4 separate regions of the Homo sapiens genome follow, and all the other regions are linked to region 4. Evidence: promoter capture Hi-C in human tissues and cell types (Jung and others, 2019). All regions are on one chromosome and are shown on one strand. Each heading gives the region's core, a stretch centred on a gene start or on the middle of the fragment in contact. The rest is flanking DNA. Distances are from core to core; before and after follow the strand shown.

Region 1 (2,700 bases), core at 201-2,700, 290 kb after region 4:
GTGTGCGTGCGTGTGTGTGTGTGCGTGCGTGCGTGTGTGTGTGTGAAATGGAGTCTCTTTCTGTTACCCAGGCTGGAGTGCAGTGGTGTGATCTCGGCTCACCGCAACCCTCCCAGATACAAGTGATTCTCCTGCCTCAGCCTCCTGAGTAGCTCGGATTATAGGCACCCACCACCACGCCTAGCTAATTTTTGTATTTTTTGTAGAGACGGGGTTTCACCATGTTGGCCAGCTGGTTTTGAACTCCTGACCTCAAGCGTTCTGCCTGCCTCAGCCTCCCAAAGTGCTAGGATTACAGGTGTGAGCCACTGCGCCTGGCCAGCATAGGTGTTTTTTAAGCCTTTGTTTGTGTCACAGTGGTTATGGACAAGATCAGATTTGGGGTGGAGAAACAAACTTCATCTCTGGATGGGAAGAATAGCAAAGTCACATGGCCAAGGAGCATGCGGGGATGGGAGACATTGGTGGCCATTGTGCAGTCTACCACACTGACCCTTATCTGCTGTGCCAGATGCCTCGTTTGCCCTTCCAATCCACTCTGCTTTCTCTGAGAGACTAAGCCATAATGACTGCTTCAACTGGGGCTCCCTTACCCTCTGACCTGACCTCTGGTTGGACTCAAGGGGAGGGGCTAATAGGAGACTTGGGGAGGGGAGAGTGAGACCCTCCCCGAGTCAGTCAGTATTTATTATGGAGTCATCTTCACTCTACCTTTTGACTATAGGTTGCTGCTCCTCTACAGATCATCTTCTCTATGTAATTCTCTCCTTCTGGGTTCCAGGAGCTACTCCCTTCCTTTGTCCTCTGGCTCTTACTAGCCTCCAATCCCTTATACTTTCCCAACACCATGCCCACACCTTTAGAAACAGTCCTTTCATTGAACCTTTCTTAAACACTCTTCACTTTAGTATGCCATCTGTTTCCTGCGGGGCCCCTGACTGATGCATCTGCTTTGTCTTGCCTCATTTGCTCCTGCTGTAGATGGAACATGTCTGCAAACATCGTTACAGTTGACCCCATGGAAAGATGGCAACCCTAGTGGAGGAATTAGCCTTCTTCCTGCATTCGTTTTTTTTTTTTTTTTGAGACAAAGTCTCGCTCTGTTGCCCAGGCTGGAGTGCAGTGGTACGATCTCAGCTCACTGCAACCTCTGCCTCCTGAATTCAAGCAATTCTCCTGCCTCAGCCTCCCAAGTAGCTGGGACTACAGATGTGCACCACCATACTCAGCTAATTTTTGTATTTTCAGTAGAGATAAGGTTTCAGCATATTGGCCAGGCTGGTCTCGAACTCCTGATCTCAAGTGATCTCCCTGTCTCAGCCTCTCAAAGTGCTAGGATTACAGGCGTGAGCGACTGCACCCAGCCATCTTCCCTGCATTCATAATTGATCTCAGAAAATGTTCTGATGGAGTTGGTTCTCTATCACTGGGAGAACGAACTCTTATAACCTCAGACCTGGATCCCATGGCATCCCTTTCACCCAGGAGCAGTGTATGTTATAAGAAGAGTGAAGGAGAAACTTTGATGCGCTGATGAAAGTAATAACTAATTATTATAAGCTTGCTTAACCACAATAACCGCTATTACCTAGTAAAGTTGGCATAAAAAGTAAACTACAAGCCAGTCTCATACATGAGTCTAGATGAACATATCCCAAATAAAATAGTGAATGCTATTTTATTGTTGTCACGGACATTATGCATTCAAATAATGTGGAGGAAACAATCTAGAGATAAAACAACAAAGAAAATTATGATCAATATAACAAAATATAGGAATAAAGATAAAAATATGCCAGCAAGGAACCGTGGAATCTGGAAAGCATAAATTTAGATGGTAGAAGTGATAGCAGAATGTTACCCAACCAATGTAAATGGATTGAAATTCTCTACTGAAAGGCAAAGACTATGAGATTGGATGAGCAATGTACAACTCTTGGCAGTGTATAAAAGATGCTTAAAGCACAGGTTTTAAAAATAAAAGGGACAAAAGTGTATCATGAAAATACATATATAAAAATGAAACATGGTCTTAATAATGATATCAAAAGAAATAGGACTCAAAACAAAAAGCATAAACGGGGGCAGATGTCCCAGCAGATCACTTGAGCTCAGGAGTTTGAGACCAGCCTGGGCAACATGGCGAAACCAAGTCTCTACAAAAAAAAAAAAAAAAAAAAGAAAAAATTAGCCAGGCATGGTGGCATGCACCTGTAGTCCCAGCTACTCAGGAGGCTGATGTGGGAGGATCACTTAAGCCTGGGAGGTGGAGGCTGCAATGAGCTGTGATTGCACCACTGCACTCCAGCCTGGGCAACAGAGTGAGATTCTGTCTCAAATAAACAAAACTAAACAAAAACATAAAACAGGGAAGGAGAAAACATGAACTCTAATGCATTACTGGTGAGTGGCAAATTAGTATATGTTTTCTAAAGAGCAAATTTTCCATACATATCCAGAGCTTTAAACACATTTTTGACCTAAGAATTACTAAATCTAATCATTTTGACCTAAGAATGACAATTCTAGGAATTTTTGGTAAGAAACCATTTCAGGATAAATGCATAGATTTATCTAGAGTGATATTCATTGCATCAGTATTTATAATATCAAAAATTTGAAAATGACCCAAGTCTCACTACCAATTAGAGTTTATATAAGTAAAATATATTACAGTCATATGGTGGAATGCTGGCCAGT
Region 2 (2,700 bases), core at 168-2,667, 420 kb after region 4:
CCTAGGTTCACTTTTTTCCTTGTGATTTAAAAAAAAAAATTAAAGTGCCTTATGAACCTTGAAAACAGCATGGGCCCTGAGCACTGTGCCTGGTGGGTTTTGATGGAGAAGTCAGCCCTATGTTCCAGCTCCAGCATCTCAATAGCACCTCCCTCTGCAGCCTCCAAACTTTTCTTCCCAAAGGCCAGGGTGCTTAACTACCATGCTCTGTGAGCATGAGAGAGCATTCCAGAGTTCCAGGCCCCAGACCTCAGTGTCCCTTTTTTTTTTTTTTTTTTTTCCTTTTTGAGACAGAGTCTTGCTCTGTTGCCCAGGCTGGAGTGCAGTGGGGTGATCTTGAGTCACTGCACCTCCCAGGTTCAAGCAATTCTCCTGCCTCAGCCTCCCGAGTGGCTGGGATTACAAACGCCTGCCACCACGCCCAAGTAATTTTTATGTTTTTAATAGAGACAGGGTTTCACCATGTTGGCCAGGCTGGTCTCGAACTCCTGGCCTCAAGTGATCCGCCTGCCTCAGCCTCCCAAAGTGATGGGATTACAGGCTTGAGCCACCACACCTGGCCTCACAGCATCATCTGCTGGAGCCAAGCCCGGCACCAGATTTTAACAGGAAGAAATTGCCTGAGGAGATTAAAAGGCAGCTTAGTTCATGCCAGGAACAAAGGCCTTCTCTAAAGTCTGAGCTTCTGTTGTGGGAGTCTCTACTAATTTTAATCTCATTAGTGGTATGTATTCACACACAGACATATACATACATACATTAGATGTGGTTATATAATCCTACAGACAAAAGCACTTCCCTGTACTTCAGCCTGCTTTGCTATCTTCCTGCACCATATGGTGAGTTCCTTTATCATATGGTTCACAGATAGCTCAAAGTGTTTGCTACCTGTTTCCTTAATCCTCTTCCAGAGAACCTTTTTGACATTTGCTGTCTGATCTTGGATTCCTGCCTTCTCTTTGGTTCTATCGCAATTATGTCACTTCCCTGCCCCCACCAAGCCTTCAACCTTTCCTTCTTTCATATGCAATTCTGATTGCAGCGTGTTTTTTTTTTTTTTTTTGCCAACTCATCTTCCCAGATCCTCGTGAGGCCCTTCTTCCACCTTCCCGAATTTTCCAGGTCTCTCCTCAATGAAGTGACTTACTGCTCTTCCGCAGCCTCTGCCTTCAATTCTCAGAAGGTAGTATGTTACAAGACAAGATAAGGTTCATTTTTCTCAAGAAAATAAATTATATCAAGGAAAATGAAATGTCAGGAATTTAAGTTTTACAACCTTCCATCTGCTGCAAGTAGATTGTCAAGCCAGAGTGAGTAAAGCGGGTATTTGCTGAGAAGACATGGCTTGTTTCTGTGTATCTCAAGACACCCAGAGGCAAGAAGTGCCACCTGAATGAGAGAGCTTCCAGCAGTCTGATAACCATGGCTCCATCTGGGGGGTTGTAGGGGGGCCCCCAGCCTGTCATCCCTGCTTCTCGATGACATCTCTCTGCAGATACGCATCAGCACCACCTCTCTCAGCCTTGTTGATGCTTCTCAAGTCTCCATGTCTAATTCTCACATGTAGAATATCCTAGGAATCTAAAATCCCGGGAAAGAAAAACTGATGGGCCAGTGTGGACCAGGGATCCCTAGGATCCAATTCACTGTGACCGGGGAAGCGGTTACTTTTCCAACCATCCATCAGGAAAGATGACAAGAAAAGCAAATAGGATGTGGGCAGTTTTCCTATGAGAAAGAAGAAAACGACGGGCCTGTCTGGCACACAGGCCAAAGTGGGAGTTTCCTTTAAATGTGTATTATTTTTTATTTTAATTTTTTTATTTTGTTTATTTATTTATTTTTGAGATGGAGTCTCACTCTGTCGCCCAGGCTGGATTGCAGTAGCATGATCTCGGCTCACTGCAACCTCCACCTCCTGGGTTCAAGCGATTCTCCTTCCTCAGCTTCCCGAGTAGCTGGGATTATATGCGCATGCCACCATGCCCGGCTAATTTTTTTTTTTTTTTTGTATTTTTAGTAGAGACGGGGTTTCACCATGTTGGCCAGGCTAGTCTTGAACTCCTGACCTCAAATGATCCATCTGCCTTGGCCTCCCAAAGTGCTGGGATTACAGGTGTGAGCCACTGTGCCTGGCCTTTTATTTTAATTTTTTAGAGACAGCATCTGGCTTTGTTGCCTAGGCTGGAGTGCAGTGGCATGATCTTAGCTCACTGCAGCCCCGAACTCCTGGGCTCAAGCGATCCTCCTGCCTCAGCCTCCCGACTAGCTGGGACTACAAGTGCATGCCATCGTGCCTGGCTCATTTTTGTTTTTTTTCTAGAGATGGGATCTCATTATGTAGACCAGGCTGGTCTTAAACTTCTGGCCACCAGCGATCCTCCTGCCTCAGCCTCCCAAAGCAGTGGGATTACAAGTGTGAGTCACGTCGCTGGGCCCTGTGTTTTCTCTAAAATGTTGCCTGATTCTTTGGGAAAAATATCGCAAAGATAAATCAAGTCCTCTTGTAGAAGGACCAGATAGAGCCCATTAACATGGAAACTCTGTCTCAGGTGATCATTCATGGCTACTGGTCCAATTATTGTGCTATCATGGTACCTGCCATCCTCTGCATATCCATCTCAACTTTATCTCTATGTATTATTTCAGAAATTTACAGTCCTGGTAAAATGAATCCCTGGTTACTAACAGCATAACCCA
Region 3 (2,957 bases), core at 42-2,541, 310 kb after region 4:
GGAATCCAAGCTTGCCTAATACCAGGCATGTGGAGATGGAGCCTCAGCAACAGGAAATACTGGGAAGAGGAATCGTGCCAGGATCCTGTGGAAACCTGATTTCCAGGGGTGGGCGAGATGACTGGGGATGATCAAGGGGTGATGCTGCGGCAGGAGTGTAATAGTTTCAAACCTGTTTTTGAGAGCACTTGAGACTGAGTCAGACAAACTCACTCGGGAGTTTAGGGGATGTGTTCACATGGGGTTGGATTCCAGCACTGTTGGGAAGAAGGTAGGGAGTCTGGCAGAGGTCCCAAATCCAAATTCCTACAGGGTCCAGGCAGGAAAGGGGAAAGAGAGAAGCAGGCCTGGTGTAAGACAATAGGGAAGAGTGGGGACTGTGGAAAACTAGAAAGTTTATTACTTATCTAAAGGGGAAAACCACTGCTCAGCCCACAGAAATGAGTGTTCTGTGTTGTCACAGCTGATGATTTCTCAAAAGGAAGCAATATTTCACATTTTTTATTCTTTCTTTCTTTCTTTTTTTTGTTTGAGACAGAGTCTCGCTCTGTTGCCCAGGCTGGAGTGCAGTGGTGCGATCTCAGCTCACTGCAAGCTCCGCCTCCCGGGTTCATGCCATTATCCTGCCTCAGCCTCCTGAGTAGCTGGGACTAGAGGTGCATGCCGCCACGCCCGGCTAATTCTTTTTGTATTTTTAGTAGAGACAGGGTTTCACCGTGTTAGCCAGGATGGTCTCGATCTCCTGACCTCGTGATCCGCCTGCCTCGGACTCCCAAAGTGCTGGGATTACAGGCGTGAGCCACTGTGCCTGGCCAAAATTTCACATTTTAATCTGATAGTTCCTGACTTAAATATAGTAAACTTATTTGGATTTCTAAGAAGCACCTTGTTGGCCAACGGTAGCTTCTTTACAGGCTTGATATAGCTTCTGGGTTCCACACTGTGGCCCCTGGGCATGAAGGAGGGCCCAGGCCAGGGATGGGACAGGCTCTAGGTGGCCTGGAGGTGTCTAGTCAGTGTGGCCTGGGTGACGAGGATCTGATGTAAAATGAGACTAGGGGAGGGATTGAGGCAGAGATGGAAGCTGTGTCTTTTTTTTTGTTTTTGAGTCAGAGTTTCTCTCTGTCACTGGAGTGCAGTGGTGCCATCATGGCTCACTGCAGCCTTGAATTCCTGGGCTCAAGCGATCTTCCCACCTTGGCTGGGATTACAGGCATGAGCCACTGCTCCCAGCCAGGAAGCTGCATCTTTGAATGCGATCAGAACCAAACCCCATAGAGGGAGTGATGGCTTACAGGCCATGAGGATTCCCAGACTCATCTCAGGCTTGGTCAATACCCACAGCATCAAGGCTAGGAAGGGAATGTATTTTGGTTAAAGGCAGGACTGATACTTATTTATTTATTTTGAGACGGAGTCTCGCTCTGTCACCCAGGCTGGAGTGCAGTGGCGGGATCTCGGCTCACTGCAAGCTCTGCCTCCCAGGTTCACACCATTCTCCTGCCTCAGCCTCCTGAATAGCTGGGACTACAGGCGCCCGCCACCACGCCCGGCTAATTTTTTGTATTTTTAGTAGAGACGGGGTTTCACCGTGTTAGCCAGGATGGTCTTGATCTCCTGACCTCGTGATCCGCCAGCCTCGGCCTCCCAAAGTGCTGGGATTACAGACGTGAGCCACCGCACCCGGCCAGGCAGGACTGATATTTAACCTGCATGCCCTGGCACTACTGTACCAGTGGTGGAAATATTGAAATACTCTGAAACCGATGGGTAAATAGCCACTGGGTCCTCTGGGCCTTTTCCCCCAACCTTCCACTTACCCATATCTGCCTCTGCCAGCTCCTACCACACCCCCTCCATGACGTGGTGACTAGAGTGCTAACTCCCAGCACAGCCAGGCTCTGCTGTCCATTCCGTTTGGTCTGTGGGCAGTCCCTGAGCCAAGGCAATTATAGATATCTTGACTCACCCCTGGTTGTAGGTAACATGCCTACCTGGATTGGCTGAAGCACAAAGGACAAATTTTAGAGGACACAGGGAGGCAGATGGAATTGGAAGGCAGGATGCCAGAACCCCAGGGACCAGAACCAGGAGCTTCATCCCTGGGGTCATGTAGTCTTTGTCTTTGTTTCTCCAGGTTCCTCAGAGCGCACCATAAAAATCAGCACCAACTGTCATTTGCTACAATGTGGATGAACCTGGAGGACATTATGCTAAGTGAAATAAGCCAGGCACAGAAAGACAAATACTGCATGATCTCACTTAGATGTGGAATCTAATGAAGTTGAACTCACAGAAGTAGAGAGTAGAATGATGGTTACCAGAAGCTGGGGGACAGCAGGAGGCAGGAGTAGGGAAGAAATGGAGAGTTGCTGAGCAAAGAGTACAATGTTTCGGATAGGAGGAATTGCCTTTGAGATCTATTGCACAGCAGGGTGACATTAGTCAATAATATGTATGTTTCAAAGTAATTAAGAGAGTAAATTTCAAATATCTCAAGCTAAGAAAATGATAGGCAAGTTAGGTGATGGATATGTTAATTTTCTTGATTTAATCATGCCACATTGTGTGTGTATATTCAGAACAATCAGAACAATCACATTGTACCCCATAAATGCATACAATTATAATTTGTCAATCAAATATAAAATTAGCAGCCTCAGCCCTGGAACTGTATGTCTGCTGGCCTCAGGACTGATTACCTGTGTCCCAGCCACTCAGCATATGTGACCCTTGAGCCAAGTGTCCACCTCTGCCCCAGTCAGCTGTGTTCAGGGAATGTGGATGTCTCAAAGTACAAGCATGGCTTTTGGGAGGTGCCCATCTCAGAGATGGCATTGGGCTCAGGCAGGCATGGAAAGGTACCCTGAAAGATGCACCTTGAGGGTCGTGGAGGGAGTCATGAGGACCACAGGTGTAGGAGTGTGGCTTTAAGCTCTTTCAGGTAGCAGGAAGGA
Region 4 (2,700 bases), core at 36-2,535:
CCTTGGGAGGGGGGCTGGAGCCACCCGTACTTACATCTGGCGATCCTGGGCTCACTCACCTGCTCCAGTCCCTCCTTGAGCAAACAGGGTGAGGCTGAGCTCCCAGCAGGAGGCCTAACATCCGGGTGGCCCAGCCGCACCCCTACAAAGGCCACATCCTGCTTCAGGACCCTCAGGTTTGGGGCTGGGCCACTGGTGTTGAGTGGAGGGTCAGGAAATTATCTGCTAGCCCCTCTTTCTTTCTGGGCTTCAATTTTGTCATCTGCAGCATGGCAGGAGGGAGAACGGTTTGGAGAAGAGGCTGCAGATTGGTTGCCCAGAAATGAATTTTGTTTGACCATCTAGTGCTTAAAAATTTTTCAATTAGCTGCCAATTTTTTTAAAAATTGGATGATTTCTACAAAAAAACCAAGATTTCAAATCTTTCTCATTTCTAATTTTTCCAGAGACATCCGATCTGGCCACACTGGGCTTGCATTCTTAGCTGGCAACCATGAGGTGGACCCATGAGGTGGAAGCCGGGAATGAGAGGTGCCTAACTCTACCTGATCGCTTTTGCCCCATGGGGGTTCTAGGCGGGACACCTGGATTCTTAGGCCAGGCGACTTTTGCCTCCTGGCTGCATTTCTGTAAGACTCTGCTATTCCTGGCACCGTGGGAGCAGATACTGACACTCCCAGCTCATTTATCCCATAGGTTCTGAACCTGGGGTGCAGCCATGGGTAAGGGGACCGTATTGTAAAGCCTCTGAAATTGCAAAACTGGGCGTGCAGGCTCATTTCTCAGCAGAGGGCCCTGAAGTCAATCATATTTTCAAAGGAAGCCAGGATTCCCAGAAGTTTTAAGAGGCCTGGCTTTCGTGCCCAGGTGCCCCCCTACCCCAGACTACACCTCTCCCTGCTGAAGAGGCGGGGTGCTCTGTCTACTCTTGCCTTTCCACGCTGGCAGATCTCCCCAGCTAGGTATTTGTTGGGGGCAACTGGCGGCTCCCCAAACCCAGGAGGCTTTTACTCCGTTGGGGCCGAGTTGGGACCACCCAGGCGTGAGGGAGGGAGAGGTGCCCCCGTGGCCCCGCCGCGCCCTCGCCCCAAGTGCGACGCCGCCCCCTGCGCCCCGCGACCAGACTTTGGGGACTTGGCGTCGGTCCCTGGCTCTCACCTGTGGACTCAGCGTCCCGAGCAGCAGCGCCGCGAACTGGAGCTGGAGCCCCAGCCGGGGCCACGGCCTCGACCCCCTGACCGCACTCGCCATAGCGCCTGGGCAGCTGCACGGCTGGCCAGGTCCCTGGGTGCCTCCAAGGGAGCGCTCTGTCCCCGCCCGACCCGGAGAAGGCTCCGCCCCTGGCTGGGCCTGCAACCCCAGCCTGGAGTCCTCGCCGATCCCCGCCCTTCTCATCACACTCCCAGCCGCATCCTCGCGTCCCAGTCACCCCACCAAACACGGTGGGGCGCTTTCCCGGGAGAGGGATTTTACTGAGCCCACTTATGGAGAACTTGCCACGTGCCGAGGACCGTGCCGGTTCATCATCAGTTCCTGGAGTCCTCACTGCACAGCAGGTACAAGCGGAGGCTGAGAGCCGCAGTCCCAATACAGATCCGCCTGATCTCAAAGCCTGCGCTCTTTATCATTGCACCAGCGGATCCCGGTGGGCTATCAGGAAATAGCGATTAATTGGTGAATTCAGTCGTTCGTTCAATAAATATTTATTATGGGTCAGGTAAGTGGCTCACCTCTGTAATCCCAGCACTTTGGGAGGCCTAGGAGGGAGGATCACTTGAAACCAGGAGTTGGAGACCAGCAACATAGTGAGACCCCATCTCTACAAAAAAAAATGGCCAGGTGTGGTGATGTCCACCTGTAGTTCCAGCTACTCGCGAGGCTGAGGTGGGAGGATTGCTTGAGCCAGGAAGTCAAGGCTGCAGTGAGCTATAACTGTGCCATTGCACTCCAGCCTGGGCGACAGAGAGAGACACACTCTCCAAAAATAAAATAAATAAATAAATATGCATGTATTTATTTTTTGAGACAGAGTCGATCTTGTCACCCAGGCTGGAGTGCAATGGCACTATCTTGGCTAACTGCAACCTTTGCATCCTGGGTCCAAGCAATCCTCCTCCCGAGTAGCTGGGATTAAAAATGTGGGCCAACATGCCCAGCTAATTTCTGTATTTTTAGTAGAGATGGGGCTTCACCACTTTGGCCAGGCTGGTCTCAAACTCCTGACCTCAGTTGATCCGCTCACCTCGTCCTCCCAAAGTGCTGGGATTACAGGCATAAGCCACCGCGCCCAGCCAATAAATATGCATTTATTATAAGCTATGACATGCCTGCCTGATGAACAAGATGATGAGGTCCCTGTCTTCGTAGAGCTTAGAGATTCCTATGCCTTAGATGTAAGACAACTCCGCATGGAAGGGCACCTTCTAATGGCCGTGACCACCCTTGCTCCTGGTAGATGTCTCCAGTTTTGTTCAGAGAGGGTCTGCCAGGGTCCTTGAAGGTAAGGTCCACCCTGTTTGCAAGTTTCAACTCATTCATGTCTCCTTCATCCTTGTGTAAAAATAAAAAAAAAAAAATCCCTGCTGATTTGAGGGTCATGCAGCCCAGCTCTGCCACCTTCTCCCCGTCCTCTTTGTCATCCTTGGCCCTCCTGGTCATCCCCTCACAGTTACTGAAAACTTGGTAGCTTGGCCCCTAGCC

The links. The method cuts DNA at HindIII sites, captures the fragments that hold promoters and counts their contacts. A contact is called where the count stands out against the background at its distance.
Region 1: a fragment that was not itself captured here is called in contact with the fragment with the promoter of ERN2 in region 4 in 2 of the 25 tissues and cell types used here (liver and spleen).
Region 2: a contact is called between a fragment that was not itself captured here and the fragment with the promoter of ERN2 in region 4, in 2 of the 25 tissues and cell types used here (lymphoblastoid cells and spleen).
Region 3: a fragment that was not itself captured here is called in contact with the fragment with the promoter of ERN2 in region 4 in 1 of the 25 tissues and cell types used here (dorsolateral prefrontal cortex).

What each region holds. Positions count from the first base shown.
Region 1 is chr16:24,002,319-24,005,018 of GRCh38, forward strand. The region is part of intron 3 of PRKCB (protein kinase C beta); the gene reads left to right. Among named protein-coding and RNA genes, the nearest start is that of PRKCB, 170 kb to the left of the region's middle. The HindIII fragment of the contact is 9,013 bases long and covers 1-2,700 here.
Region 2 is chr16:24,135,051-24,137,750 of GRCh38, forward strand. The region is part of intron 9 of PRKCB (protein kinase C beta); the gene reads left to right. Among named protein-coding and RNA genes, the nearest start is that of MIR1273H, 67 kb to the right of the region's middle. RefSeq lists enhancers at 566-1,101, 1,638-2,173, 2,174-2,700. The HindIII fragment of the contact is 3,515 bases long and covers 1-2,700 here.
Region 3 is chr16:24,021,979-24,024,935 of GRCh38, forward strand. The region is part of intron 3 of PRKCB (protein kinase C beta); the gene reads left to right. Among named protein-coding and RNA genes, the nearest start is that of MIR1273H, 180 kb to the right of the region's middle. RefSeq lists an enhancer at 736-895. The HindIII fragment of the contact is 5,902 bases long and covers 1-2,957 here.
Region 4 is chr16:23,711,937-23,714,636 of GRCh38, forward strand. It overlaps ERN2 (endoplasmic reticulum to nucleus signaling 2), which reads right to left and starts at 1,286. Exons shown (of 22, transcript NM_033266.4): 1 at 1,159-1,286. The coding sequence starts at 1,251. The HindIII fragment of the contact is 19,919 bases long and covers 1-2,700 here.